Linked DNA regions of Homo sapiens: regions 1, 2, 3, 5, 6 and 7 are each linked to region 4. The links are contacts of gene promoters, found by promoter capture Hi-C in blood cells and fetal thymus (Javierre and others, 2016). All regions are on one chromosome and are shown on one strand. Each heading gives the region's core, a stretch centred on a gene start or on the middle of the fragment in contact. The rest is flanking DNA. Distances are from core to core; before and after follow the strand shown. Region 1 overlaps SH3RF3 (SH3 domain containing ring finger 3). Region 2 overlaps SH3RF3 (SH3 domain containing ring finger 3). Region 3 overlaps SH3RF3 (SH3 domain containing ring finger 3). Region 4 holds the start of EDAR (ectodysplasin A receptor). Region 5 overlaps SH3RF3 (SH3 domain containing ring finger 3). Region 6 overlaps SH3RF3 (SH3 domain containing ring finger 3). Region 7 overlaps SH3RF3 (SH3 domain containing ring finger 3).

Evidence for each region. Contacts are between HindIII fragments. The CHiCAGO score rates a contact against its expected background, and 5 or more counts as called.
Region 1: a contact is called between a fragment that was not itself captured here and the fragment with the promoter of EDAR in region 4, in 4 of 17 cell types (non-activated CD4 T cells, naive CD8 T cells, total CD8 T cells and 1 more). The highest score is 9.3, in non-activated CD4 T cells.
Region 2: a contact is called between a fragment that was not itself captured here and the fragment with the promoter of EDAR in region 4, in 5 of 17 cell types (total CD8 T cells, non-activated CD4 T cells, M1 macrophages and 2 more). The highest score is 6.8, in total CD8 T cells.
Region 3: a fragment that was not itself captured here is called in contact with the fragment with the promoter of EDAR in region 4 in 2 of 17 cell types (M0 macrophages and non-activated CD4 T cells); the score reaches 5.5 in M0 macrophages.
Region 5: a fragment that was not itself captured here is called in contact with the fragment with the promoter of EDAR in region 4 in 1 of 17 cell types (non-activated CD4 T cells); the score reaches 6.4 in non-activated CD4 T cells.
Region 6: a contact is called between a fragment that was not itself captured here and the fragment with the promoter of EDAR in region 4, in 5 of 17 cell types (total CD8 T cells, naive CD8 T cells, M2 macrophages and 2 more). The highest score is 7.3, in total CD8 T cells.
Region 7: a fragment that was not itself captured here is called in contact with the fragment with the promoter of EDAR in region 4 in 8 of 17 cell types (non-activated CD4 T cells, M1 macrophages, total CD4 T cells and 5 more); the score reaches 9.9 in non-activated CD4 T cells.

Annotation. Positions count from the first base shown.
Region 1 is chr2:109,338,819-109,342,460 of GRCh38, forward strand. All of the region lies in intron 1 of SH3RF3 (SH3 domain containing ring finger 3), which reads left to right. It also overlaps a transcript of RANBP2 not described here. Among named protein-coding and RNA genes, the nearest start is that of MIR4266, 27 kb to the left of the region's middle. The HindIII fragment of the contact is 3,553 bases long and covers 1-3,069 here.
Region 2 is chr2:109,437,554-109,441,372 of GRCh38, forward strand. The region is part of intron 7 of SH3RF3 (SH3 domain containing ring finger 3); the gene reads left to right. It also overlaps a transcript of RANBP2 not described here. Among named protein-coding and RNA genes, the nearest start is that of MIR4266, 130 kb to the left of the region's middle. The HindIII fragment of the contact is 2,643 bases long and covers 912-3,554 here.
Region 3 is chr2:109,411,166-109,414,998 of GRCh38, forward strand. The region is part of intron 4 of SH3RF3 (SH3 domain containing ring finger 3); the gene reads left to right. It also overlaps a transcript of RANBP2 not described here. Among named protein-coding and RNA genes, the nearest start is that of MIR4266, 99 kb to the left of the region's middle. The HindIII fragment of the contact is 8,736 bases long and covers 1-3,833 here.
Region 4 is chr2:108,986,855-108,990,759 of GRCh38, forward strand. It overlaps EDAR (ectodysplasin A receptor), which reads right to left and starts at 2,366. Exons shown (of 12, transcript NM_022336.4): 1 at 2,106-2,366. It also overlaps a transcript of RANBP2 not described here. RefSeq lists an enhancer at 839-1,340. The HindIII fragment of the contact is 677 bases long and covers 1,974-2,650 here.
Region 5 is chr2:109,357,047-109,361,058 of GRCh38, forward strand. All of the region lies in intron 2 of SH3RF3 (SH3 domain containing ring finger 3), which reads left to right. It also overlaps a transcript of RANBP2 not described here. Among named protein-coding and RNA genes, the nearest start is that of MIR4266, 45 kb to the left of the region's middle. The HindIII fragment of the contact is 2,669 bases long and covers 1,341-4,009 here.
Region 6 is chr2:109,470,611-109,474,421 of GRCh38, forward strand. The region is part of intron 8 of SH3RF3 (SH3 domain containing ring finger 3); the gene reads left to right. It also overlaps a transcript of RANBP2 not described here. Among named protein-coding and RNA genes, the nearest start is that of SEPTIN10, 140 kb to the right of the region's middle. RefSeq lists an enhancer at 136-255. The HindIII fragment of the contact is 4,424 bases long and covers 1-3,539 here.
Region 7 is chr2:109,487,292-109,491,332 of GRCh38, forward strand. It overlaps SH3RF3 (SH3 domain containing ring finger 3), which reads left to right. Exons shown (of 10, transcript NM_001099289.3): 9 at 3,314-3,645. It also overlaps a transcript of RANBP2 not described here. Among named protein-coding and RNA genes, the nearest start is that of SEPTIN10, 120 kb to the right of the region's middle. The HindIII fragment of the contact is 2,700 bases long and covers 639-3,338 here.

The DNA of each region.
Region 1 (3,642 bases), core at 43-2,542, 350 kb after region 4:
AAGTGTGTGAGCCATTGCGCCAAGTCTTGCATGTAACTTTTGACTCCCTCAAACTCAACTCCTAAGAGCTTACTGTTGACCAGAAGCCTTACTGATAACACAAACAGTTGATCAACACATATCTTGGGAGAACTATACATTATATACTGTGTTCTTAGAATAAAGCGAGCTAGAGAAAAGAAATTGTTATTTAAAAAATTGTAAGGAAGAGAAAATGTATTTACTACTCATTAAGTGGAAGTGGATCATCATAAAGGTCTACATCTTCATCATCTTCACGTTGTGTGGGCTGAACAGGAGGAGGGGTTGGCTTTGCTGTCTCAGGCAGAGAAGAGGTAGAGGAGGTGGACGGGTAGGCAGAGAAGGGAGGCACACTCGGTATAACTTTTATTGAAAAAAATCCACGTATAAGTAGACCCTTGCAGTTTAAACCCATGTTGGTTCAAGGGTCAGCTGTTTTTTGGGGGGGTGGGGGGTAACATGAAAGTAATGACATGAAAAATGTATATATAGTAAGATGATGTGGTGGTTGGTTTGGGTTGAAATAAGGACCTACAAGGAATCCTCTGCCTTTAGTCCCCTCCTTCTCTTCCCTCCTGTCCTCTTGGTCTTCTGCGGTGGCTGGAGATCCAGGTCCCCAGTGCAAGGCCCCATTGACCTGAGGCCACCCACAAAGGAGGCCCACGTGAGTGTGCTGCCCAAAAGGCCGGTGGAAAGGTGGTAGATGGGGCCGACCAGGCATCAGCTGGATTCAGGCCCTGGAGGGTGCCTGGGTGGGGCTGCAGGGGTTGCCGGTAGCGAGGCCTTTGTTCCCTGGGAGGGATCAAGGAGCACTTTTCAAGGTGCCTGGTGGCTGCTGGGGACTTGCTCAAGTACTCCTCTAAGTACCCATTATCAGAACATGCCTGGGAACACTGCAAATACCAGCTCACAGCATGGGATCTCTTCCCAGAAAGTGAGGAAGTGAGCAATGCATCTCTGAATTGGATAAATGTAAACAGATCTGGACCCTCCTGGCCCAACGGATGACTGACCCACAGCTGCCCTTTCCCTTCCATAATTAAACAGATAATTATCAGGGCTCCACAGAGGCTTCCCTCGCCTTTTGGGGGAGTGAGGAGGAGGCAGGTGGTTGGAAGCTGGTTGCCCAGTTACACGCTTTGTGATGCTGAGGAATTTGCCCACCTTGCTACATTTTTCTCACTTATAAAAGGACTATAATTCTTATTTCACAGGAGTCCTGTGAGCAGTAATCGGGTTATCGGGAGTGTCTGGTGGGGAGTAGCAGCTAAATAATGGCTGAGTTACTTTGAGGGGGTGATGTGTGTAGCTGGCAGTGCACAGGTTGGGAGGTCAGACCACCTGGATCCAGTCCTGTCTCTCGGACCTTGGACAAGTTACTGGACCTCACTGTGCTCCAATTTCCTATCGGTAAAGTGCAGATAATATAAGGCCAAGCTCACAGGGTTGCTGTAAGGATCCTGTGGGTCTCGCAGGTAGAGGTAGGAGCAGCAGGCACACAGGAGGTGCTCAGGACAGGAAGGGGCAAGGTCTGGATGAGAGCCCCAGTACTGCTGGAACCCAGAGAAGCACATACCTCAACCCTGAGGGTGAGAGAAGGTTTACACCCAAGGACCATGCATTGGTTCTTTGCTGAATTCACTTATTCAGTGAATATGGGCAGATGCTGGAGGGGCGGTCCTCAGTTCTCCCATCTGACTTTTGCTGCAGTGCATGAGGAGGGATCACCACTGACCACTTCCTACACTTAGAAGCATCTGCCTTTCCTGGCCCCGGCACCCAGGGTCCTGGAACATCTGTTTGCCTCAGCAAGTAGTCAATGATCATTGTTTTTATAGCTCCTTTTTCATTAAGAGACACAAAGCTCTTTTCGTATCATCAGTTTTATTCTCAGCATACTAAGAAGCACGGAAGGGCAGATTTGATTATCTCTGCTTTATGGGAAAACTAAGCCCAAGGTACTTTGTCAAAAGGTGCATTCTAAGGCCACCACAGATGACCTAACCGCTGCTTTGATGCAACAGGGAAACAGGCCACAACAAAGTCTGGGAAAAGTAAAAAAAGGAAGAAAAAAAAAATTTGCTTTTAAATCCTCTCCAATCTGGCTGCAACATGAAAATGCTACAGGCAGCTCTTAGCTGTAGACAATTTATGTCTTCACAGTTGCATCCACGCAACAGCTTAGTAGTGGCCTCGTCACCCTGTGTTTGAAGGGCAAGTCGTGTTTTCATCCTTTGTCTTATTTCATCAATTCTTCATCAATTCTTGGATGAATGAGTGTGCAAATATGGGAAAGGAAGAAACTGACAGAAGAAAAGAGGGGACAAAACAAAAAGTTTGGACCCAACAAGCAGCTTTGAATGAGAAAAAGGGACAAAGGAACTCGAAATATAATTATCTGTAAAACAAAAACCTGGGAACCTCTGGTTGCAGTGTGATAACAGTAACAAACTTCTTCATCGCGGATTAAATCTATAAAGTGGAAGATGGGATACACTCTGGTAAATGCATTATTTAAAATAAGGTAAGGCCAAGAGTTGTGCCTTTTCTAAATCTGAGAGTCTCTGAGTTGAAAGTGCTTTTCAAAGATGACAGCACATAAATGATAACCCTCAACAGTGCTATGAAAGTCAGTGCCTTGGCTTGAAAAATGCTTACGAGCTAAAGAAATTGTAAATACACCTGAGACTTCCTGAGTGAGTCAGAATATAAGCTGAGCTGTGAATGAGATCCCAAAATGTGTTGGCTCAGATAAGATCAAGTTTCCTTTTTCTTACTTCATGGTATGGGGGTGTGTTCTGCAAGGTCACCCCAAGACCCAGGTTTCTTCCCCCTTTGCTCTGGGCATAATATTTGATGGAAAAACTGGCCCACCCTACTGTGTCTACCATGCAGCCCGTGGGAAGGCAGATTTCCTTATGCATGTCATCATAAAACATGCTCCAGAATGTGCAGGAATCACTTTCACTTGCATTCTGTGGACAGAAATGTGGACACCTACCCAGGGCTGCCTGCAGGCAAGGCTGGAAAATGAAGGCTTCTGCTGGAAGCTTGATCTCAGTTGAAATTTGGAATATTCTGACAGACAAAAGAAGCAGAAAGTGGGTATCAGGGGTCATTAGCTGTCTCTGACCCATTCTCAGACCCCGCAGTGCTTGGTGTGTATACAATTAGGGTCTCACCCGCCGGGGCCTATGGACGAATGTGTTCATCTTCCTGACACTTTTCTGCTGGCCACATGCTGTGCTATACAGGTCTGGAGACTGCAGGTGGGCAGACTCTGTGTCCATCTATAACTCTGGGCCTTTGCATGGGCTGAGCCCCTGGCTGGAATGCCCCACTTCTCATCAGCCATACCTGGGATTTTCCCCATTCCGCCAGGCCCAGCTGCTATTAGCAATAGGATCTTGGGCAACATGGACTGTGAATCTCATATTTTGGGAAAAATAATGGGCCAAATAGAGGCTGTGAGCCAAGGCCCCAGTCCCAGGGGACTGGTTTGCTAGTCTGTGTGTTCATTCGTTCAGTAGATATATGGAGCGTATGATCTGTGTCAGGCCAGCAGCGGAGCATCCAACAGTGAGCAAAACAGGCGAGAATCTGTCCTGATGGGCTAATTGT
Region 2 (3,819 bases), core at 983-3,482, 450 kb after region 4:
CACGTGGGTCTTCCATCTGCCGGGCCCTGCAGGGCTTCCCAGCTAGGCGGCATCTCACAGGACAGGGCTGGGGTGAGACTCGGGCCCAGGCTCTTCCCTTTCTGAAGTGCTCTGAGGCAGGAGGAATGACAGCTGTTGATCCTTCGCCTTCATGGCAGCTGGAGAAACTTAAGGAAAACCGGTTTGGCCCCAGGATGTTGTGAGATGAAAAGAAATTATGGGGTGGGCCTTAAAGGCATAAAGAAGGTAAGCACATCTTGGTTGGTGGCTTAGTGTTGAGCTAATAAGAACTGCTGATGCTGGATTCGCAGGATGATCTGGGAGCCCATGCCACGGCGTCTTCCACCACGGTGGAGCCAGTGATGCTGACATGATGCCAAGTACCCCAGGACAAGAGGGGATAACACAGAATCTCTCTTCCCACCCCAACCCTGTCCTCTCAGAAATCATCTGTTTTTCTCAAAGTGAGGCTTAAAGGGCAAAAATAATGTAAATTCATGGAAGCAATAAAATATACTATTTCTTAGACTAACGAACACGATGACCCATTAGAAGTGTCCAGAAAGCAGCTTCTCAAGTGTGGAAAGAGGAGACAACACTTAGGTCAGCAGAGGCCATATTTCCTTCCTTATCTTAGCTGATGGGACAAGGGGTGGGAGGTAAGTGTCTGTCATCCACTTGCCCACCCAAGTGGGTGCAGGGTAGACTTCAGGTATCCAGTGCCCAGCATCGTCACTGGGTGCAGGTGGACTTTGAGTGCCTGGTGTCTGGCACCATCAGCAGGTATAGGGTGAACTTTGGGTGCCCAATGTCTGGCACCATCAGTGGGTGCAGGTGGACTTCAGGTGCCCAGTGTTCAGCCTTGTGCTGGTGGTGTACCTGTCAAGCAGTGGGTAATTTAGCACTAGGAAAGCTTCATGGGTGGTCTGAGGACTACCCTGGTGTCAGAGCCTTCAAGACCTACTCTGCCATCTCAGATTCTGTAAGTCTCTACTAGTATCTTTTTTACTTAAATCAGCTAAGAATGATTCTTGGTTTTCACACCCCTGGCTCCAGGGCCCTGGGAAAGAATCTGCAGCAATATTACCTGGTGCCCAAGCCCACCCTGCAACCCATGACCTTCTGATCAGCCGTCCTTCAGCATGGTTTACGTGGATCTGTGTTTTCTGGTAGCCTCTAGCTGGGGATACAGTCATTGCAGTTGGCAAGTGATCTGGTGATCTGAAGTTGTGCTCCCTGACTGGTCAGAGGCAGCCAATATGCTGATCTGTTTGGCCACTGGAGCACCCAGGCAGGACCAGGGGAGCAAAAGTCCCAGGCCAGGTCCCTTCTGGTTATAAACATCTCATCCAATCAGCCCGGTGTTCTGTACAAATGTTTCCACATGCACCAGCACTAGAAAGGGTGAGTGGCCCCACTCATCACGGTGAGTCAGCATCCCAGTGCAGTGGCCCTGGGTTGTCTGCCCAGAATAGCCAGTATAATGGTCTTTCCACACCAAGCCTTGCTAGAAACGTTCCCAATTCAAAGAAGAAATGGAGCCCTGCCAGTCACTTCTCCCTCTGTGGAATAACAAGCAGGATCAAAAGAAATTGGCAAGGCTGTGGGGCAGTGCAACATTGTGTCTCAGTCCTCCATCACCATAGTAACCATGAGGGTGCCACGAGCATTCTCTTCCATCAGTTTAATGTTACACACGGGGAGAGTGAGGCACGGGATGGTTAAACGGCTCCCCAGTGCATCCCAGCCCAGCACTTGTCCCCACGCTATTGCTGTCACAGCCAGGTTAAAGAATGACTCCTACTGAGCCATATCAGTAAATTAAATGCCACTGAGTTCCTGCGGCATTTTCCACTTCATTCTGCATTTAGAGAGAGAAAAAACACTGTTGACAGTCCAAGTAATGGATTGTTCCCTGCAGTAATTGCCCATTTCAGCAGACCCCAACCCCGATGGGTGGGAGGCATTTCATCAATGTTCTCATCTCGAGCCAAAGTCAGGCAGTTTGACAAAGGCTTAATTGCATTGGCCATAGCATCCAATATGATTTGTTCTACTTGATTAATGTAACTCCTTTCCCAAAGGCAGAGCACCCCCTGTAAAGTGCCAGTGTTCCTTGCACACTCCTGTCTGTGCTTAGCAGGAGTAAGAGCCCAGCATAGCCATGAATTCATCAGCAAAAAAGCACCGAGAAGGAGCTAGATACAGGCAAGGCACCCTGCAGGGGTCTGGAAACAGAGGAAAACCAGACAAGCCCCATTTCCACCCCGGTTAGAGAGAATGACTAGAAAACAAAGTTCTGTGGTGGGTTTGCTAAAGGGCTGCAAAAGAGGCCTGCTTAGGTATTAAGAGAGTGTGGAGGAGGGAATTCATTCCGACTGGGGAGGAAAATAGGAGGGGGATTGGGAGTAGGGCATATGGAAAGTTTTCAAGAGGAGGTGATAATGCCTTGAATCTTAAAGGACAAATAGGAAGTGTCTGAGCAGACAAAAGAGAAAGGAGGTTCAGAGCAGAGGAACCAGCATGAGCAATGGCCTGGCAATGAGGAATAGCATAACTCTTGTTTTGGGGAACTTTATTTAGTTGTGACATGACTGAAGCAAAGCTATGGAAGAAGGAGAAGTCCAGTGTGTAGATGACAGTTCCCTGCAGAGGCATACTGTCCTTTAAATCTGAAAGGTGGGTAGAGCTCAGCATGCAGCAGTAGGAGAGTGTGGGAAGCACTCAGGAAGGGGAAGCATGGGGAGCTCTTGGGCCGCCGAGGCCAGGGGCCCATGGACGCTGGAATACGGATAGGGTGCGGGAGCAAAGAAAGACCCGCAGTGAAGCCGAAAAGCTAAGCAGAGCAGAGCATGGAGGTTCTTCTAGACCACGTAAGGAATTTAGATGTTTATCCTAAGGGGGCACATCAAAGGGTGTTGAATAATAGACATAGTCATATTTTTGTATTTAAAAGATTGAGCTAGACTTCTGCTTATGGCCAATCTGAAGTGATGAGGACAGGAATTACTCTCCCACATGAAACAAATTTAAAAAGCCAAGTATATAAAACAACAGTTTTCAAGACACCAGACAACCAAGGACTGATTCATGAGAGAAGTTGCAGGCAGTGGCAAAAGGAGGCAGGTAACCAGGTGGAGGAGCCCCGAGGATGTGGAGATCAGAGTTTGTGTGACAGAGAGGGCTTGAGTTTCCAGGGCAGTGACCAGAGAGGAGAGAACAGCACAGAGAGGCTGCAGAGCACGCCCTGAGATCTTCAGGTGACAACTCATCTGCATATGAACATGAGAAACGTACCCAAAGCCAGGAAAAGAATCAAAGAAAGAAAGGATTAGTGCTAACAGTGCCCAGAATACACACCAGCTGGAAATAGTGCCTGTTCCCACCAGCCAGACGGAAAAATTGCAGAAATCACCAGGCATTGAGTAATCTACACAGGACCTTGCCTCTGTAGTGGTCAGACTGAGCACTGTTCCAATTTCACCCAACAGAGCTCAAAAACAACACTCAAGAGTCAAACTATTTCTGATTAATTTATCTTTGTCCCAGAACAAAGCTTAAGAATATTTATAGGAATACAAAAAAAAAAAAAATTCCAGCTCTCAACAACATAAAAATCACAATGTCTGATGTCCAATAAAAAATTATGAGGCATGCAAAGGAGCAGGAAAATATGACTTATAATGAAGGGATCAGTCAATCAATCAAAACTGACCCCAAATTGACATAGATGTTGCAAAGACATTTAAAAATGATATTACAGTTGCCTTTCACATACTCAGAAAGTTAAGTAGAGACATAATAGACCCAAATCACACT
Region 3 (3,833 bases), core at 1,133-3,632, 420 kb after region 4:
CAACCTCGTTATGAATACTTCAGGGGAGAGGCGCCATTGGTTGGGGGCTGAAAGTACATCCAGGCAGTGCGCAGCTCAGGCTTTGCAGGATGCTGGCCGTGTGGAAGTCTGTGCCTTTACTCAGGAGTTCCCAATTACAGTCATTTAAAGGAGAGGCCCCTTTCCCTGCAGTTAGTTCCTGCCAGGGTTAGCAGTGGCTGCTCATCTCTGCCCCTCAGCAGGCCTCGTGTTCTTGGGAGTCACATTCTGTACAGCTGGGCCTGTGGCCCCCAGTAGCGTGCTGCTGAGCCTGTCAGTGGGAGGACCCCTGACCCCCTCCCACCTTGGCCACCAGCAAATTGCTGCTCGTTTGCATCCGTAGCAACAGAGACCAGATTCAGAGGATGGACTGACCCCATCAGCATCGGGAAGCCACGACCAGTGTGCCACTCATTTCTTTGTACTTTTAGTTTTCATATCCCTGAGGGCAGAGCCCAGCCCAGCGTTGCCTCCTACACAGCAGGATGTCCCTCGCACCCCTCGCCCTGGGTACCACACCACACACCCATGCTAGGAAGGCCGGCCACACGGGAGCCACGCTCAGCCATGTCAGTTTTAGGCATTCTTCATCTTGACCTTTGGGAAAAAGCATTTCCACACATCTGACCTCTCTCTGCTCTTCATTCCAGCTCTAAGTAATAGCTTACTGTTAAATCCCACATATTTGCTTGGAGCTTTTGCCATATCAAGTGTCAGCTGAAGGCCAGGATTCCAGTGAAGCCGGCAGAATGTCTCCCTCCTGCTGTCTTTAGGGACAGCCTGTGTCAGGGTGGCCAAGGCCCCAGACCCCTGAATGGGCCCTGTGGCAGCTCCCACTGTCCACACCTCAGGTTCCTTGGCTGAGCCCTCCCGAGCCTCCTGACACCGAGCCCTGTGGGTTGCTTTACGTTGGACTCACGCAGGGCAGTCGGTGGATGCCGGCACAGATGGGATGGTGAGCCTTCGGCCGCCGTGGTCCACGATGCGTGTGCTCCGCACAGTGTGCACTCTCAGCCTAGCCTTCAGCCTCTGCCCAGCAGACAAAACACAGTCTCCTTGGTCTCTCCTGGCCAAACACATTGCCCCCCTTTCATTGGAGTATGGCTTGAGCAGCTCCAGGACATTGGGAGGTGGAGATCCAAGTGCCGGGGCAGGCTTCAGGCAGGCCACCCTCCCAGTGTGGCCCCAGCGTGGCTCTGGCTGTGCTTTGCTTGTGCTATGCTGGTTTGGGACAGCTTGGCTGTTTCTGGAGCATTTATCTGAACAGGACAGCAGGCATGGTAACAACAGCAGGACCAGTGCGTGCCTATCATCTTAGGTTCCCACTCTTCCCGCTGCTGCAGAGCAGAGTGCCAGTGCCTGGGAGCACAGAACTGCCAGCCCAGCCCCTGCTGGTGCTGCAGGGTCACCCCTGCCCTTTGTCAGCTCCCAGGATCCCCTGACAAAGATGGCACATGGGGGATCGAGAAAGATACGGGCTTACCGTCAGCCAGACCTCAAGTGTTAACTCTGTTATTCTTCTCATACCACTGTGGAAATGTTTCAGGAAACCATTGTCACTTGATATTAAAGTGTAGATTAAAAAATAATAAAATTATCCCAAAAGGCAACTCCCCAAAGGAGCAAAGTTATGGTTTGGTATGTAAGTTTCCTGACTTCTTGCCATGAAAATACACGTATCACTGTCAGAAATTAGATAAGCCTTCATATGCAATGCTGTCACCTCCATTTCCACTCTGCATACCCTACATGGCCCTCCAGGCCTGTCCATGGAGACCACGGCACAGGCGGCAGTGGGGCATTCTGTGTCCTTGTCAGCCTGCCAGCCCCACACCCTGGAACTTCAGGAGTGCAGGTTTTTCGTATCATAAACAGTGCTGCTGCGAAATCCTTACCTGTACCTCCTTTCTGACTTGTCTGATTATCATTATTTTATATATATATTTTTTGAGATAGAGTCTTGCTCTGTCGCCCAGGCTGGAGTGCAGTGGCGTGATCTCAGCTCACTGCAACCTCCGCCTCATGGGTTCAAACGATTCTCCTGCCTGAGCCTCCCAAGTAACTGGGATTACAGGTGCTTGCCACAATGCCCAGCTAATTTTTGTATTTTAGTAGAGACAGGGTTTCACCATGTTGGCCAGGCTGGTCTCGAACTCCTGACCTCAGGTGATCTGCTTGCCTTGGCCTCCCAAAGTTCTGGGATTACAGGCGTGAGCCACCACCCCAGGCCTGTCTGGTTATTTTAGGATTCATTCTTAACAGGAAACTGCCGGGGCTACAGGCTTTTTTTCCTGCCCTGTCTCTGTCTGTCTGTCTCTTTCTATCTCTGTCTGTCTACCTCTGTCTCTCTCTGTGTCTCTGTGTCTTCCTGTCTGTCTCTCCCGCTCTAGAATGGAGAACAGCTTTGTCTACAAGCCCAAATCACCAGGACCTGGGGCTGTATGAGAACGTCTCTGGCCCCCACATTCCCCTCCCTATTCTGTGCTCTGGGGCAGCACGCCTGCCCCCACCAGCCCTCCACACAGCATAGACATGTCATGAGGGCCATGCCTTGTAGGACCTGAGTTTGCAGACTTCTCTGTTACTAACTATGGCAGAATGGGACAGAAACCAGGGGACTGTGGGTCCACTGGCCCAAGCCAGGAGTGAGGGCTTTCCCTGCAGGGAGCACACTGGGGTCTTCCGCATCCCATGAGTGGGATCAAGAGGTGTAACTCCCCACCAGTGGTCCAGCAGGGGCAGTCACCTGCCCCAGGAAGCGCCTGTGCATGTCAGCATTCCCAAGACCAGTGGGTCCTTCTAGGTCCTTGGCTTCCTTGGCCATTCCACAGCATGCAGCTCAATGGACAATGACATTCCCTCTGAAGCACCATCTCCCCTGGGCTATGGGTCTCCTTCTGTTTATTGGGCTGCCCCATCTTGGCCTCCTTCAGGGCCCTCTTCTGGGTGGTGTCCCGCAGATGGGGCCAGGGCATGCTCCCTCCTCACTGTCTCCCAGGCCACTGCACCGTCTACCCTGTTGGCTTCAGGACAACGATCACGAGCCTTTGTTGAGGGCCTATTCTGTGTACTTAGAGTGACTGCTTTATAGCCTGTGGGTTGTCTGACTTCATACTCCAGCTGTCTAGACCATGCAAGCTGCCACAACCCCATCTTCTCATGTCTTGGGGACTCTGTCCTCCACTGCTTGATTTCTATAGTCTTGGGAGCTATTGATTCAGGTTTCATCTGGTTTTTCAGTTTTTTCAGGCAGGAGGGTAAACCTGGCCCCTGTTACCATCATGGTCAGAGCAGAAGTTCATGACCCTCAATGGACACGAGGAGCAATCAGAGGCTCACAGACGCCATCTTGGCTACGGTCACAAACACAGGTCACACACCTGGGAGCTAAGGGCTTTGCCACAAGACTGCATTGCCTCATAGATCAGCTATACATACATGACCCCAGATCTGCTGCCCAGGCCAGTCCCTTCTGAGCTCCTGATTGGCATTACCAGCACCCTCATCATCCACACTGAGACATCTCCAGGCACACCAAACACTGCGTGTCCAGCACTGAGCCCATGGCCTCTGTGGTCTCTTGTTCCTGTCTCTCCAGCAGCATTTCCATCTGGCCAAGGCTAGAAACTCGGCCCATGCTCCTCCCTCAACGTCCTTCAGACCTAATCTTGTTGGTGGAGAAGGGACTGATGGCCCCCACACATGTCCAAGTGCTGATCCCAGAACCTGAGAATGTGTCACCTCATGTGGCAAACGGGAAAAGACCCTGAGATGGAGATGCTCCTGGATCACCTGGGCCACCGCAGCCACAAAGG
Region 4 (3,905 bases), core at 1,116-3,615:
ACTCACAGGAAAGGCTGGCTGGGGCTTTTGTCCCCTAATTGATCTAATGTGCTAAGTGGGCTTAATGTAAGTTAATTAATGATACTATTGGTGGGTGGAATACCTAGGCAGAGCCTCAAACAGCATCAAAGGAACGAGCAGGCAGGTGTCATCCAGGATAATTGAGGCATGCAGGCAGTCACTAGGCAGGCTAGGAGGAGGGTGAGGGGAAACTGAGCCCAGCTGAGGGGCTGAGCCACTTAAGCAGCAAGGCTGTCTGCCAAACACCATCCTGTTTACAGCTCCTGTATTTGAATTTCAGATTTGCTTGAGTCTTTGAAGCTGGGTTCCTGGGCATTTCCTTGAGAATAAATTCTATTCTTTGGAAACCACAAAACGCACTCACTTGGACCCAGAAAGGAGCGTCAGGTAACCCAGCTTCCATCTGTGGGCCTATGAGACCTGAGGAACTTTGACTAGAAGAGGCTCCCCATTTAACAGAGGCAAGTAGGTTTTGCGCTCCGTGAGATGGGGTAAGACCAGGTCTGTCTGCACTCCGGAGCAATGTTGGGCTGCCGCCCAATGGCAGGCACTGGGCTAGGCAAGAGGGTACCATGATGCCTGAGAAACAAAGATGAGCCCCTGACATGTCTGTGCTTCACAAATGTGTATGCCCAACAAAATGAAAGTCCAGCTCACAAAAGCAAGAAACCAGGTAGTGGCCAGGGAGTGAAAATCAAGCATTTCAGGGAAAGTGTATTTACTTTTTCCTCCCAAAGACTGGTCCTTCCAAGATTATCCTCCAACTGTGCTGTCACAAATTAATCCTCCCACAGCACAGCCTGGCCCACTTAGGGATGGGGAGGGGTACAGTGGAGACCCCCGGCCAATCGCCACCAGGATCGCCAAACTTTCCCAGCCGTGAAGGGTACACGTGGACTGTCATCGGAACGAACGCTTATTTCCAAGCCTTGACCAGAGTCACTCTCTTTTTGGTGGCCTCTGTCAAAATGTATCTTTAAAGGTTTTAAGTGGCTATGACTTACAAATCTCAGAGTATTAAGCCAGGCAAGAAACATTCTCTATTTTAGATGCCTGGATCCCTTTTTTCCTTCAGTCTATTATGGCTCTTCACTTCTTTGTTACACTTTCACTCTTGCTTAGAAAGTGTCTCAAAAATGCCACTTGAGAGCCACAGAGCAGTGGCCTGGGGACTGGGGAAGAGGACGGTGGTGCTCCTGTCTCTCCGTACGTCTCCTCACATGCGTGTACCCCTGGCTGTGTGGGATTGCCCACTGACCGGCATCTGCCCTGCTTGTTGATTTTAACTGTCCCTCTTGTTGCTGACCCAGCACAACATGGGCAGGGAAACCCAGTGGGAACCTCGCCTGCTGACCTCCCTGCCCAGCCACCCGCTTCTCCCTGAGCTGACATCTCAAAGCTTGGCTGCTGCAGGAGGCTGGGAATCAGAGCCGACTGAATCAGAGCCGACTCCTGTCTAGGAGCCCAACCCACCCCACGGTCTGTCAGAGTGTTGAGAGGAACCTCTTGGCTGGAAATGAAAACCTCAATCATCACAAATAGGTACCCACTCCCCTCCTTCTCTCCCTCTCCCCGCTCCCCCGCCACCAACACAGAGGCCAGGATATGGGGGGTCTCAGACACGACTGGAAACCCCACTTGGAAGGTCTCTTAGGTCACAGCGGGTACGCAGAGTTGGAGGCAGGTACAGAGCCCAGCTAGAGTCCCTGCCGCGCCTGCCTTCCCCAGTGAGCCGGGCACAGGGGCAAACCTGAGAAACATACTTTTCACGCTCCCTGGAGGAACCCGTTGCTTCAGTAGCCCAAATCTTAAAGCCTGTGAAGCACACACAGAATTTGTCTCCCTAACCAAATGTGCAACCAACAGCAAAACAGGGTTTCTGATGTTTTTCTAAAACAAAGGAACAATCTCAGGTCTTAGAACTGGTAGCGCAGACATACTGCAATCGGTAAAGCTTGTTCAAACGCAACCCAAAAATGACATGCATTTCAAAAATGCACCCAGCCTCTCTCCCAGCCCATGACACCTCCGTCTCGGCCACAGCTGAAGAGTTTAGAAAACCAGAGGAAAGGACCAGGGCTTACCTGGCTTCTGTTGGAGGTCAGCTTCAGTCCCAGCAGAAGATGGGTCTATGAAGAAAGTCAGGTACCATCCAGTTCTGGGTGACAGGCTTCACAGGTGGCCACCGTGGCAGCCCTCTCAGAAGCAGGTACTCTATGTCCTTAGGGGCCAGCAGGGCTGCCTGGGACCTGGCACACCTCTCTGACACTAGCCCCGCTTCCTTTCCGTTTAAAGGGCTTCCCGGGAACTCTTCCTTGACCGCTCCCTGCCCTGTCTGCAAGTTTGGAAACTCAGTCCTTGCCGAGGGGCTTTCCCTCATTGCAAACTCACCTGCACCATCTAGAGGTCTCTCCCAGCACTGGAGAGGCTGGAGCGGGCACGTTCAGCCCTGCTGCCATAGGTCCCTGGCACACCTGGCTCTCCGGCCGTCTGCCCCTTAAGAGATCTGTTGGAATGCGTAAAAATCATGGATTTTTTTTTTTGCAGGGGTGGGGGCCTTGCTTCTATCAGAGCCTTTAGGCGTGGGAGTGCTAAAAAGCTAAACTAGCATTAAAATATCATTAATCAAAGCTTGTTCGTAGAAGGACCCCCCACTGAGATGGCTACAGGCATGGGTGCCACTGCACGGATTCAGCTTCCAACATGTCTGTTCACATTCTCACCCATCCCCCGCACATCCCTCAGGGTTTGAGCCACCAGGACTGCTCTTCCTTTCCTCTCTCTGGACACCTCACACCACCAGTGTATACCCATGTAACTTCAGATAACCATACACACCCCCCGTATAACTAGGTAATTAGGAAGCCATTTGAAACATCAACATTTTGAAAGGACATACCTTTCAGTATTGGGCAATTATTTCTCAAAAAGTAAATGATTGGGGGGGGGAAAACAGCCTTAAAATAATGTCATTCTCTTGTCATTTTCTCCCTCATTCACACCTACACAGATAAATACAGGAACAGAGCAGCTCCTCCAGGCTAGATTTCTGTGTTCTCCTTTTCCATCTTGTCCCCTCTGCCTTGGAAACCTACAAGGTAACTCACACATGAGAAAGTAAGAGCTTAAGAAAGAAACAGTCTGGGCTCCGTGGCTCACACCTGTAACCCCAGCACTTTGGAGGCTGAGGCGGGCAGATCACTTGAGGTCAGGAGTTTGGGATCAGCCTGGCCAACATGGTGAAACTCCGTCCCTACTAAAAATACAAAAATTAGGCCGGGCGCGGTGGCTCACGCCTGTAATCCCAGCACTTTGGGAGGCCGAGGCGGGTGGATCATGAGGTCAGGAGATCGAGACCATCCTGGCTAACAAGGTGAAACCCCGTCTCTACTAAAAATACAAAAAATTAGCCGGGCGTGGTGGCGGGCGCCTGTAGTCCCAGCTACTCGGGAGGCTGAGGCAGGAGAATGGCGTGAACCCGGGAAGCGGAGCTTGCAGTGAGCCGAGATTGCGCCACTGCAGTCCGCAGTCCGGCCTGGGTGACAGAGCGAGACTCCGTCTCAAAAAAAAAAAAAAAAAAAAATATACAAAAATTAGCCGGTGGTGGCATGTGTGGAGGCTAAAGCAGGAGAATTGTTCGAACCCAGGAGATGGAAGTTGCAGTGAGCCGAGATTGTGCCACTGCACTCCAGCCTGGGCAACAGAGCGAGAATCTGTCTCAAAACAGAAAAGAAAAGAAAAGAAAAAAGCAGACAGAAATGTATGGGGCTGGGGCAAGGACCTAGACTGTAAAGGACTAATTCTGCCTCCACAGAGATTAAGCTGAACCAGAGTTACTTAGCTGACTTGATCCTTGTGGATGATTAATCTAGATAATATAAGCT
Region 5 (4,012 bases), core at 1,425-3,924, 370 kb after region 4:
TTACCTTTTTAAAATTTTTTTTTATTATGTTATATATAATATATATTTAATACTTATACATAACATATCAGAAAGTTCACTAATCATAATTATGCAGCTTGATGATTATCACAAACAATATATTCTTGTTTTTTGTTTTTTGGTTTTTTTTTTGAGACGGAGTCTTACTCTGTCGCCCAGGCTGGAGTGCAGTGGCACGATCTCGGCTTGCTGCAAGCTCCGCCTCCCAGGCTCATGCCATTCTCCTGCCTCAGCCTCCCGAGTAGCTGGGACTACAGGCACCCACCACCATGCCCGGATAATTTTGTGTATTTTTAGTAGAGACGAGGTTTCACCGTGTTAGCCAGGATGGTCTCGATCTCCTGACCTCGTGATCCACCCACCTCGGCCTCCCAAAGTGCTGGGATTACAGGCGTGAGCCACCGCACCCGGCCAACAGAATATATTCTTACCTAGTGATGAAATGATGGATACTGGGGCTCCTGTGCCTCTGACAGTTACCAGCCCGCCCTTCCCGCATGTCTACTAACACTACAGATGAGTTGTGTTTGCTCTTGACCTTCACATCAAGGAATCACGCAGGATTTATTTTTGTGTCCAACTTTGTTTTCTCTCAGTTTTATATTTGTGAGCTATACCCATGTTGTTGTAGGGCACTGTAGTTTGCTCATTTTCATTGCTCTGTGGTGCTATTTTAGATTTTTAAAAAATAGGTGTTATATTTTTAGAGCCGTTGTAAGTTCACAGCAAAATTGAGCAGAAGATACAGAGATTTCCCATAAACCTCTGCCCCTACATGCAAAGCCTCCTGCATTGTCAACATCACTCACCAGAGTTAGTGCATTTGTTACAATCAATGAGCCTATATTGACAAATCGTTATTACTCTAAGCCTATAGTCACTCTTGGTGCAGAGTCTACTGATGGAGATGTCATGTATCTACCATTATAGGCCCATACAAAGTAGGTTCACTGCCCTGAAAATCCTCTGACCTGTCTATCCATCCCTCCCTCCTCCACCACCCCTGGCAACCACTGACCTTTGTACTGTCTTCATAGTTTTTCCTTTCCCAGAACGTCATACGGTTGAAATCATACAATATGTAGCCTTTTCGTAATGGTTGCCTTCACTTAGCAATTTGCATTTAAGGTCCTTCCATGTCTTTTCATAGCTTAATAGCTCATTTCCTTTTTTATCATTGAGTAATATGCCATTATCTGGATGTACCACAGTTTGTTTATCCATTCACCTACTAAACGACATCTTGGTTACTTCCATGTTTGGGTAATTATAAATAAAGCCACTCTAAACATCCATATGCAGGTTTTTGTGTGGACATAAGCTTTCAGCTCCTTTGGATAAATACTAAGGAGTGTGATTACTAGTTTGCATGGTAAAAGCATGCCTAGTTTTGTAAGAAATTTCCAAACTGTGTTCCAAAGTTGCTGGGCCATTTTGCATTTCTGCCAGCCGTGAATGAGCGTTCCTGTTGCTCCACATCCTCATCAACACACTACACACTACACTGTCTTCTTTGGTGAAGTGTCTTCTTTGGTGAAGGTCTTTGACTCACCATTCAATCAGACTGTTTTCTTGTTGTTGAGTTTTAAGAGTTTTTTGTGTATTTTGCATAATAATCCTTTATCATAGTTGTCTTTTGATAATATTTTCTCCCAGTCTGTAGCGTGTCTTCTCATTACCTTGACAGTATCTTTTGCAGAGTACAAATTACTAATTTTAATGAAGTCTAACTTATCAATTCTTTCTTTTGTGGATCATGCTTTTGGTGCTATATCCAAAAAGTCATTGCCAAACCCAAGATCATCTAGATTTTCTCCTACATTATCTTCTAGGAGTTTTGTAGTTTTATATTTTACATTTAGGTCTGTGATCTATATTGAGTTCATTTTTGTGAGGGGTGGAATGTTTATTTCTAGATTTTTTGCATGTGGATGTCTAGTTTTCCTACCACTGTTTATTTTAAAAACTATCTTTTCTCCATTGTATTGTCTTTGTTCCTTTGTCAAAGATCAGCTGACTGTATTTATGTGGGTTTATTTCTGGGTGCTCTCTTCCATTCCATTGATCTAGTTGTCTATTGCATTGCCAATGACAGACTGTCTTCATTATTGTAACTTTATTTTCAGTCTCGAAGTCATGTAGTGTTGGCCCTTGTTCTTCTCCTTCAATATTTGTTGGCTCTTCTAGGTCTCTTGCCTCTCCATATAAACTTTAGAATCAGTTGGTCAATATTCACAAAAGAACTTGCTGATACTTTGATTGAGATTGTGTTAAATCTATACAACAAGTTGAAAAGAACTGACATCTTGACAATATTGAGTCTTCCTATCCATGAACATGAAATATCTATTTGTTTAGTTCTCCTTTGATTTCTTTCATCTGAGATTTTTAATTTTCCCTATATACATCTTGCACATATTTTGTTACACTTATACTTAAGTATTTCATTTGTACCTAAGTATTTCATGATACCATTTACATTTATACCTAATGTAAATTGTATCATGTTTTAACTTAAATTTCATTTGTCCATTCCTGGTACAGGTTGAGCATCACTAATCTGGAAACTTGAAATCCAGAATGCTCCAAAATCCAAAATTTTTTGAGCACCAACATGATGCTGCAAGTGGAATATTCCACACCTGACCTTATGTAATGGGTTGTAGTCAAAATGAAGGCACACAACACACAGTTTCTTCAGCATCCTCAAGGGAAAAAAGACCCTCCCAGGCCCCTTCAGCTGTGATATTTATTTTCCACACATGCCCAGATTCCCCCATGCAAGCACAACCATAAAGGGTCATAAAATGGCACATGTGTAGGCTGCACATGCCAATGGCAGGTTCTCCACGTGAAAAGAGAGATTTCTATGACCATTGTTGATGAGGCAGATGACTGCAGAAAAATATTTTTAAAAGCCATCCAGCAGAATGTTTCCTCATCCACAGAGGACCCACTTACTGGTCCCTTAACCACTTCTGATGTTTCCTTGCACCAAAAAAAAAAAAAAAAAAGTATACACTTACCTTTTAATCAAAGCACAGCATCATAGGTAGAGACTGAAAGCCTGCCATTGTTTGTTGTTGCTGTTGTTTAACAGCTGATACAGGTATTCTGGAGAGGCTACTGTGCCGCTTAGTTACTCTGAACATGTAATTTTTTTCACTGTATTAATAATATGTCATATTTTTTACTGCTAAATACTTATGTGTGAATAATTGTAAGAAAATGATTGCTTATTGGTAGCATATAAATCCAGAGTCAGAAGTGAGGCTGATGCCAAACAACCACAGATGGTCCGCATGGGTGATACCCTTTGCTTTTTGTAGGCTCGATGTACACAAACTTTGTTTCATGCACAAAATTATTAAAATGTTGTATAAAATTACCTTCAGGTTGTGTGTATAAGGTATATATAAAACACAAATGAATTTTGTGTTTAGACTGGGGTCCCATACCCAAGATATCTCATTATGTATATGCAAATATTCCAAAATCTGAAAACATCTGAAGTCCAAAACACTTTTGGTCTCAAGCATTTCAAATAAAAGATACTCAGCCTGTATATAGGAAAGCAATTGACTTTTGTATATTAGCCTTGTATCCTGCAACCTTGCTATAATCAAGTATTAGTTCTAGAAGTTCTTCAGTTGGTTCTTTCAGATTTTCTAAATAGATGATCATGTCATCTGTAAACAAAGGCAGTTTTATTTCTTCCCTCCCAATCTGTACACTTTTAATTTCCTTTTCTTGTCTTATTGTATTATCAAATATTTTTAGTATGATGTTAAAAAGCAGGGGCAGAGAGTACATTCTTGCCTTGTCCTTGATCTTAGTGGGAAAGTTTAAAGTTTCCCACCATTAAGTTTCTCGTAATTAGGTGAACTGTAGGTTATTTGTAGATGTTCTTTATCAAGTTGAAGAAGTTCCCCTCTATTTGTAGTTTACTGAGAGTTTTTATCATGAATGGGTATTGGATTTTGTTAAAAGC
Region 6 (3,811 bases), core at 78-2,577, 480 kb after region 4:
ACACCAAGCTCCCTGGACTGGCTCTGACAGTGCCACGCATGGGGTGCCTAGAAACTGCTGTGGCCGGGGCTGGTGGAGGATGGGTCATCACAGAAATAGCAGAGCCAGAGGTGCAGATGTGCAGGAAGTAGAGGCCTCGGCTCAGCCACCCCTGTTCCACAGGCCACAGCTTAGAGAGACCCTTTGCAGGGAAGTCAGCTCACAGCAAACAAAGGGTGCTGACATTTCATTCCTTCTTCCTCATGATAAGAAATCTCTTCTGTTGCCTGAGGCAGAGTCAGTGTATTAGTCAATTTTCACACTGCTGTAAAGAAATACCAGAGACTAGGCTGGGTGCGGTGGCTCACGCCTGTAATCCCAGCACTTTGAGAGGCCGAGGAGGGCAGATCACTTGAGGTCAGGAGTTCGAGACCAGCCCAGCCAACATGGTGAAACCCCATCTCCACTAAAAACACAAAAATTAGTTGGGTGTGTTGGCAGGTGCCTCTAATCCCAGCTACTTGGGAGGCTGAGAATCACTTGAACCCAGGGGGCAGAGTTTGCAATGAGCCGAGATCGTGCCATTGCACTCCAGCCTGGGCGACAGACTCTGTCTCAAAAAAAAAAAAAAAAAAAAAAAAAGAAATTAATACCTGAGACTGAGTAATGTATAAAGGAAAGAGGTTTGATTGACTCTCAGTTTCAGCTGGGGGTGCCACAGGAAACTTACAATCATGGCGGAAGGCAAAGGGGAAGCAAGCACCTTCTTCACAAGGCGGCAGGAGAGAGAAGAGAAAGTGAAGGGGGAAGAATCCTCATAAAACCATTGGATCTCATGAGAACTCACTCACTATCACAAGAACAGCATGGGAGAAACTGCCCCCGTGATCTAGTCCCCTCCCTCCAGGTCCCTCTTTGACACATGGGGATTACAATTCTAGATGAGATTTGAGTGGGGACACAGAGCCAAACCATATCAGTCAGTGGCAAAATTCATCATTGGAACAGCTCATGTAGGCCCAGACACTGTTGTATTCCATGGGTGAGGAGGTTGCTGTCCAAGCCACCTGCTCCAGGACACATGCTGGGGCGGGGTCTAAGTCTCTTTCTTTTCCACTCACCCCCTTGCTGTCTCAGCCTCACATACCTAATAAGACGGTCCCAAGAGCTTAGCCATAGGAGATAGACTAATGCACAGTCCTGGATAGCTTGTCCTGCCTTTTTGCATGGGGCACGTCTTGTTAAACTTTTTCCACACTCTATTTGCTGAGACTATGCAGACACAGGGAGAGCAGATGCCTGGCAGTTCTCTAGAAGGCAGGGGCTGTGTGAACAGCAGTTCATGTAACTTGGTCTGAAGCAGGCCATTTTCCTCCATGGTTATATTGCCAATTCAGGGAGAAGCAGAGTCCTGGGCCCCCTGCACTGTGTGGCCCTGTAGCACAGTGTGCACCTGGATTCTGACATCTCAGCTTCTTTCAAATTCCCATCCTTTTCTAATTATTAATTAGATTGTTAATTATTATTAATTAGTTAATATGATTAACAACCACCTGTGACCTCATGGTAGCAGCTCCTTATAGAAATGTAGGAGCAGTCCCCAGTTAAAAATTAGATAGGGATAAAAGCCCAAATCAGGGCACTTATTCAGGGAGGTGCCACCTGGCCAGGGTCTGGGCTGCTCCAGGAAGACGGTGGCAGGAGAGGACCCGGCCAGGGGCCTCCCGGGCCCTCCTCACCTGCACTCTCGGTGGTCTCGGGCCGGTGTGCATGCAGGGTGTCCTGGAAGCAATCTTCCTTAAGAAGCACAGAAAGAGGAAATCCAAACCATCCTGCAGAGCTTGCGGGGCTTCCCGACGGGGCTTCCCGTCAGGGCTTGGCAAGCTGGCAGCCATCAGGAAGGACTTGTGGAAAGAAGAGCTTTGATTTACGGTTGCTGCCTCAGAAACCCCGATCCAATTGATGAACCGACCTGCGGCTGCCTTCTGGTTGGATGAAGTGATTTCCATCCATCTGTTTCATTTAAAAACAAAATTCAGGAAGTGAGCTTGCCATACCTGACTAAATAATAGTGTGTTTAATTTTTCCTGTTTCATTCCAGACATCCTTCAGAAGGAGGCCAGATTTTACAGAGATTTCATCTGAATGCATTCCATTTGATCTAATAATTTATGGCTGTGTTGTATTTGTCCTACAGAAAGCCAGCCAGACGCCCGTTGGAAATCCAACACACAGCAAAGTTATCCTAATGGACAGGGTCGTGACACACTCAGACATATCCCAGGGCAGACAGCCCTGCTCCAGCCTCTTATTTCTGTCTGTCCTACCTTTGGCCTAATCTCCTTTGAAGCAATTTTAAATGAATGAATGTGGTGCTATAAATTCTACCCGACTCGTGGGGCCTTTCCTACCTTAGTGAAAAGATAATGTGTTGGCTGAGATGGCAAGGAGACAGGGTCACATGGTGTTGCAGCCTTTCAGATGCGAGTCCCAAGAATCTAAAGAGAACTGACAGCCTGGCATTTAATCGCCCCTCATTTAACAGCATTAACTCAAGTTAACTCTTGCAAAGCTCTGTGATGGATTTTCCCAGGGAAGCGGCTTCCTGCCTAGACATACGAGCGCCTCACACAGGCCTGGGCTGGCCCCATTCGACGCCTGGGCACCACTGGGAGCCTGGAGCTGGGGTTGGGCCCTGCAGAGCCAGAGCCTCTTGGCCATGGGCAGCTGTGCCTGGGCTTGTGGCTGGTTACCAAGCACAAGTTGACATCGTGTTCAGAATAGGGCGTGCTCTGAGGCCCCCATCAGCATTTGGCACCAAATTGGGACAAATACAATGAGGTCTGAGCCCCTATTTTATTTGGGGAGGCTGTGGGGGATGTAAAATAGCAGATATAGGTGATAAAGAAGGCCTGAGCAACAGAGCCATGCCAGGGTTAGAGCGACAGAGAGGAGAGAGAAATAAACCCTCTGTAACTGCTCATCTGGGATTCAAAGAAGATGGTTTCTGAATGGGACCTAAAGCACAAACAAGGTTCAAGGGGGAGGGATGAGGGAGCATATGTGTCCTAGGTGGAGGGAGGAAGCAGCGTGCCATGTCCTGCTGCCGTGCCCAGCTCACTCAGCCACCCACCCACCCCACCCACTCCTGCCTGCCTCAGGCTACCTCCTCCCCTGTAACACTGAGCCTGAGAGGCCTCTGAGCCCCCCGTGCACAGCCAGCACCTTAGCCGCAGGCTGTCTCTTTTTTGGGGTGTCCCTGAACCGCTCTCCTTGTGCCCCTGAACCGCTCTCCTTGTGCCCCTTGATCATCAGCAGTGCTGTCATTACCCCTAGGGTAATGCTGCCCTCCCACAGGGGCAGAAAGTCTTTATAGACTCTGTCCTGGAAGGTGCTGGAGGCCAATGAGGTTATGACAGGGGCTTTGATGCTGGAGACTTTCTGTGCCTCTGTGTGGCCTCCTCACCTTTGGTTTGGGGGTTCGTGGCTTCCATTTGATGCACAGTCTGGGCCGGGCTGAGGAAGGTGGCAGGTGTTCAGAAGACGCAGGTGGCCAGGGAAGCTTGGCCGCACCTGCGTAAGAGCACACACCTGTGTGTGGGCAGGTGTAAGCCATGCAGTGGCTCTCTAGGGAGGTGGGTGTGGGCACATTTGTCTGCAGCAGTCCTTTTAGCAGTGGGAGAAAGAGCTGAAGTTTTGAGCCGGACAGTTAGTTATGTGTCAGGCTGTTTGAGAGGAGAAACCCCTGTGGGTTTCTGTGAGCCATTTGGGCTGTAAGTGTGAGCTAGCTGCGTCTAACAAAGCTCTCCCCCTAACAGAGAAGGAGGGGCTG
Region 7 (4,041 bases), core at 739-3,238, 500 kb after region 4:
TGCCAACTGTCCATTGGCTATTCTTTCCTGCCTCACACGGGACGACCACCAGGGAAGTGCCTAGACCGTCTACCTCCATATTCCATGGATTCCGTGAGCATGACGATTGTTAGTACTGGGAATTCCACAGCGATTGGTAATAACTGATGCTTAAGGCATTAGCAGAATTCTGTCCTGGAAGGCGGACGTTTTGGAGAGGGTTTTCTAGCCATGACATCAGCGTTTTTCCAAGTTAATTAAGTGTTTAGTTTATTTAATCCTGGAGAATTGAGACAGGAAAATTATCCATCACATTTACGCACCCCACCCTTTCCAAAGCAGACAGCTAAGGTTGGGCCTGACTGCATATACTCTCAGCAGCTGGGCAGTGAGGCAGCAGGGCCTCAGCGTCTCCAGCTCCACCATACCCCACGTCCAGGCCCACAGGGCCCAAGGTGCCCTGGGAGCAAGAATCTGCCCACCGAGTCCCTCTCTACTCAGGGGCCAGAAGGGCTCTCCCCGACGGGCCCAAGAGCCCTCAGCTGGACTCAGTTCATTCAGCAAACAAGTGTTGAATGCCTGTTGTGTTCTCAGCACCGTGCTAGGCGCTGGTGGGGATACTGCAGTGAACAAAACAAACACGACCCCTGTACTTCCAAAGCTTTGATTCTAGAGGGGAGCCTAGACGGGGATGAACAGCCACCAGGCCCCTTCATGGTGAAGAGGAAACAGAAGTGGGCAGAGAAAGGCTAATTCCTTTTCCTTTGGACAACGCAAGGCCACCCAGGTCTCCTGCCTGCCAGGAGGGGAGGAGCGGCCAGCAGCCCCAGAGCCTGCAGAGTGGGCTCCGCCGGGACACCTGGGGCAGGCCTGGCTTCTGTCCCCGCATCCTGGCCTGCTGTCCTTGTGACCTAGGGATCCCAGCCTTAGCACTGATGACATTTGAGGCCAGATAACCCTGCCATGGGGGGTTCCCTTGCATTGGAGTATGTTTACCAACATCCCTGGGATCTGCCCACCAGATGCCAGCAGCACCCCTGAGTTGTGACAGCCCAGATGTCTTCAGACATTGCCACCTGTCCCCTGGAGGCAAGGTCACCCTCTCATCAAGAACTCTTGCTGTGGGTTCAGGCCTCCTGGGGAGCCAGTTCCCACCCCAGGTACTGCAGTTCTTTCCTTCCTGGCCTGCGGAGGGGCTGACGGGCCCAGCTGCAGGGTCTCCCATCCCCAGGCCTTATGCCCTGCCTACATCGTGGCCTGAACAAGCCTCCTCACTCCCTGCCCCCAGGCACCCCACTCAGATCCCAGGGTTCTGCCCCCGACCCCTCACGGTTTCTTCTTTTCCTTTCTAGTTTCTACCCAAGCAGTTCCCGATGTGTGTTCCTGGGAACACTCTCCCTCAAGTTGTGCCGCCAACAAGAGTTCTCTGAGAACTAGACTCGGGAAACACCACACTTTGAGCTGCCAGCACATGAAGGGCTGCAACGAAATCCATGTCTAACTGATTGCTCTAGGCTGTTTCCTATTGCTCACAACCTCCAGGGCCTGGCACGGTGCACAAGACCTTCAGGAAGTTATTGGAGGGAGAGTGAGGCAGAGGGGAGATAGGCCGGGAGGCTGCAAGCCCAGTAGCGGAGTCAGGTATCTGGATCCCCGTGCTGCATGGCTCAGAGCTGGGCCGCCTCTTCCTCCTGAAATCACCCAGAACTCCCCATGGACTGTCAGTACAGAGCCTGAAAGCAGGAACAGCTGACCTCCAGGATGAGTCCAGCCTTGGAGGAAACACATTGAGAAAAGTGGGGAGCGAAGGCCGAGACTCAGGCAGTGGAGTTGGAGGCTGGGATCCACACTTGCCCAGGGCACACCTTCATTATATCTCTTTCCCTCTCTATTGCATAAGCAGCAGTGCCTGGGGCACAGGCTCTGAATGCAGTGGGATTAATGAATACAGTGGAACAAATGCTGGTCACCAAGGGTGATGGGGATGGTCCCTTTAGACACCTTATCGGGTGGAGACCCTTCACCGGGCACTAAGCAGTATCCCACAGCCACAGGCCCCCAGACCCTGGTACAGCTGCAACAACAATCCAGGCATGTGGCCTGGGGGGACTTGGCTGGGGCCGGAGCAGTTGTGCTCTTAGACAACCAGACCCCAGCGTGGCTTGGGCCTCACGGAAAGTCCCATCAGGAACCGTGTCACCTGTCCTACAAAGTCCACTTAGAAGAGCTGGGGGAGGAGAAAGCAGATGACATTGACTGCTGGTTCCTCTACACAGACAATGACGTTGCCAGGCTTGGCCAGGGTCCCGTGACAGAGAGGGCTGTGTTGTCGGGGATGGCCCGTCAGCAGCATCCTTCTCTGAGAATGGCATCACTGGCCTGCCCTGGGGGCCTCGGGGCCTATTTTGGACATTTCTGCTAGATTTTGGAAGAGAAAGGAAAACAAGTGTCGGACAAGGTTTTTTTTGGCGGGGGGTGGGCGGGGGGGACGGAGTCTCGCTCTGTCACCCAGGCTGGAGTGCAGTGGCGCAATCTCAGCTCACTGCAACCTCCACCTCCTGGGTTCAAGCTATTCTCCCACCTCAGGCTCCTGAGTATCTGGGATTACAGGCAAGTGCCACCACACTCAGCTAATTTTTGTATTTTTAGTAGAGACAGGGTTTCACCATGTTGGCCAGGCTGGTCTCGAACTCCTGACCTCAAGTGATCTGCCCACCTTGGCCTCCCAAATTGCTGAGATTACAGGCATGAGCCACCGTGCCCAGCCTGGATGAGCTCTTGGTCTTAGCTTTGTTTTCCTCCTCTGAGCCACTTTACAAGGTTATCTTTAAAGTTTCCTGATGGAACCATTCTCCATGGGTCTCTCACCCTTCTACCCATCTTACAACTGAGATGCCATCTGCTGGCCTATCTTTTCAAGATGTCCATGTAGGCACCAGCCTTGGAAAATAGAAATAATGTCAGTCTTCAAAGCAAAGAGCAGGCATGCTTACTGCTTGACTCCGGAGCAGAGGGCCAGCATCCTCACAGTCCAGTAGAGAGGATTTGGTGTCCCGAAGCTCCAGGTCCTCTGCTTTAACACAGCCTGGTGTGCCTGCAAGCGTCACCTGGCCCTCACTGGTTCACCCGTGGGAACTGGGGTTCAGGGAACTGGTGCAAGAAAATGCTGGTACTCTGGCTACTGCTGTTGCTGTGAGTGGTAAAGTCTTTTGTCTGAAAAAATAAGAAATTTAAAAATAAAGTTCCACATAGGAAGATGCATTCCCCTCTCTCTGACAGCAAGGGCATTGGGAAGCATTCACCTGTTTGGTTTCCATCTTGTGTGTCTCCCCAGAAAGAGAAGAAGAGTGGGCTCCTGAAGCTTCTAGCCGGAGCATCCACCAAGAAGAAGTCACGCTCCCCGCCATCTGTGTCTCCAACCCACGACCCCCAGGTGGCCGTGGACGCCCTGCTCCAAGGTGCAGTGGGCCCCGAAGTGTCCTCACTGTCCATCCACGGCAGGGCAGGGTCCTGCCCCATAGAGAGCGAGATGCAGGGTGCCATGGGGATGGAGCCTCTGCACAGGAAGGCAGGCTCCTTGGATCTAAACTTCACATCTCCTTCCCGGCAAGCTCCGCTGTCCATGGCTGCCATCCGCCCCGAGCCCAAGCTGTTGCCCAGAGAGAGGTAAGTGCAGGGGCTTGTCTGCTCTGTGGCATGCTGTGGTTTGGCCTCTGAGGTCTGGAGCCACCTTCGGGGAGCAGGGACACTGTGGCCTTGCTGGGATTAGGTTTACCAGATGTACCTCAACACCCAGATCCACATGGTCCCGAGCTTGGGTGGTGAGTGCTGGATGAAACGAGTCTGGGAACTGGAGTGTTATTTCATGTTCTGCATCCATCTGATTCCTGAGTTTGGGATTGCAAAGGAGCCATCAGGAAATGTGTCAGGACCAAGTGTTTCTGAGTGCAAATAGTGGGAGACTAGGCAGTGAGTGGTCTGTGCCCCCTCAACCCTGGGGGATCCTGGAGCAGGCCCCTGGGCTGAGTCCCCAGTGGGCCTATGTGTCCCACTCAGGGAGCA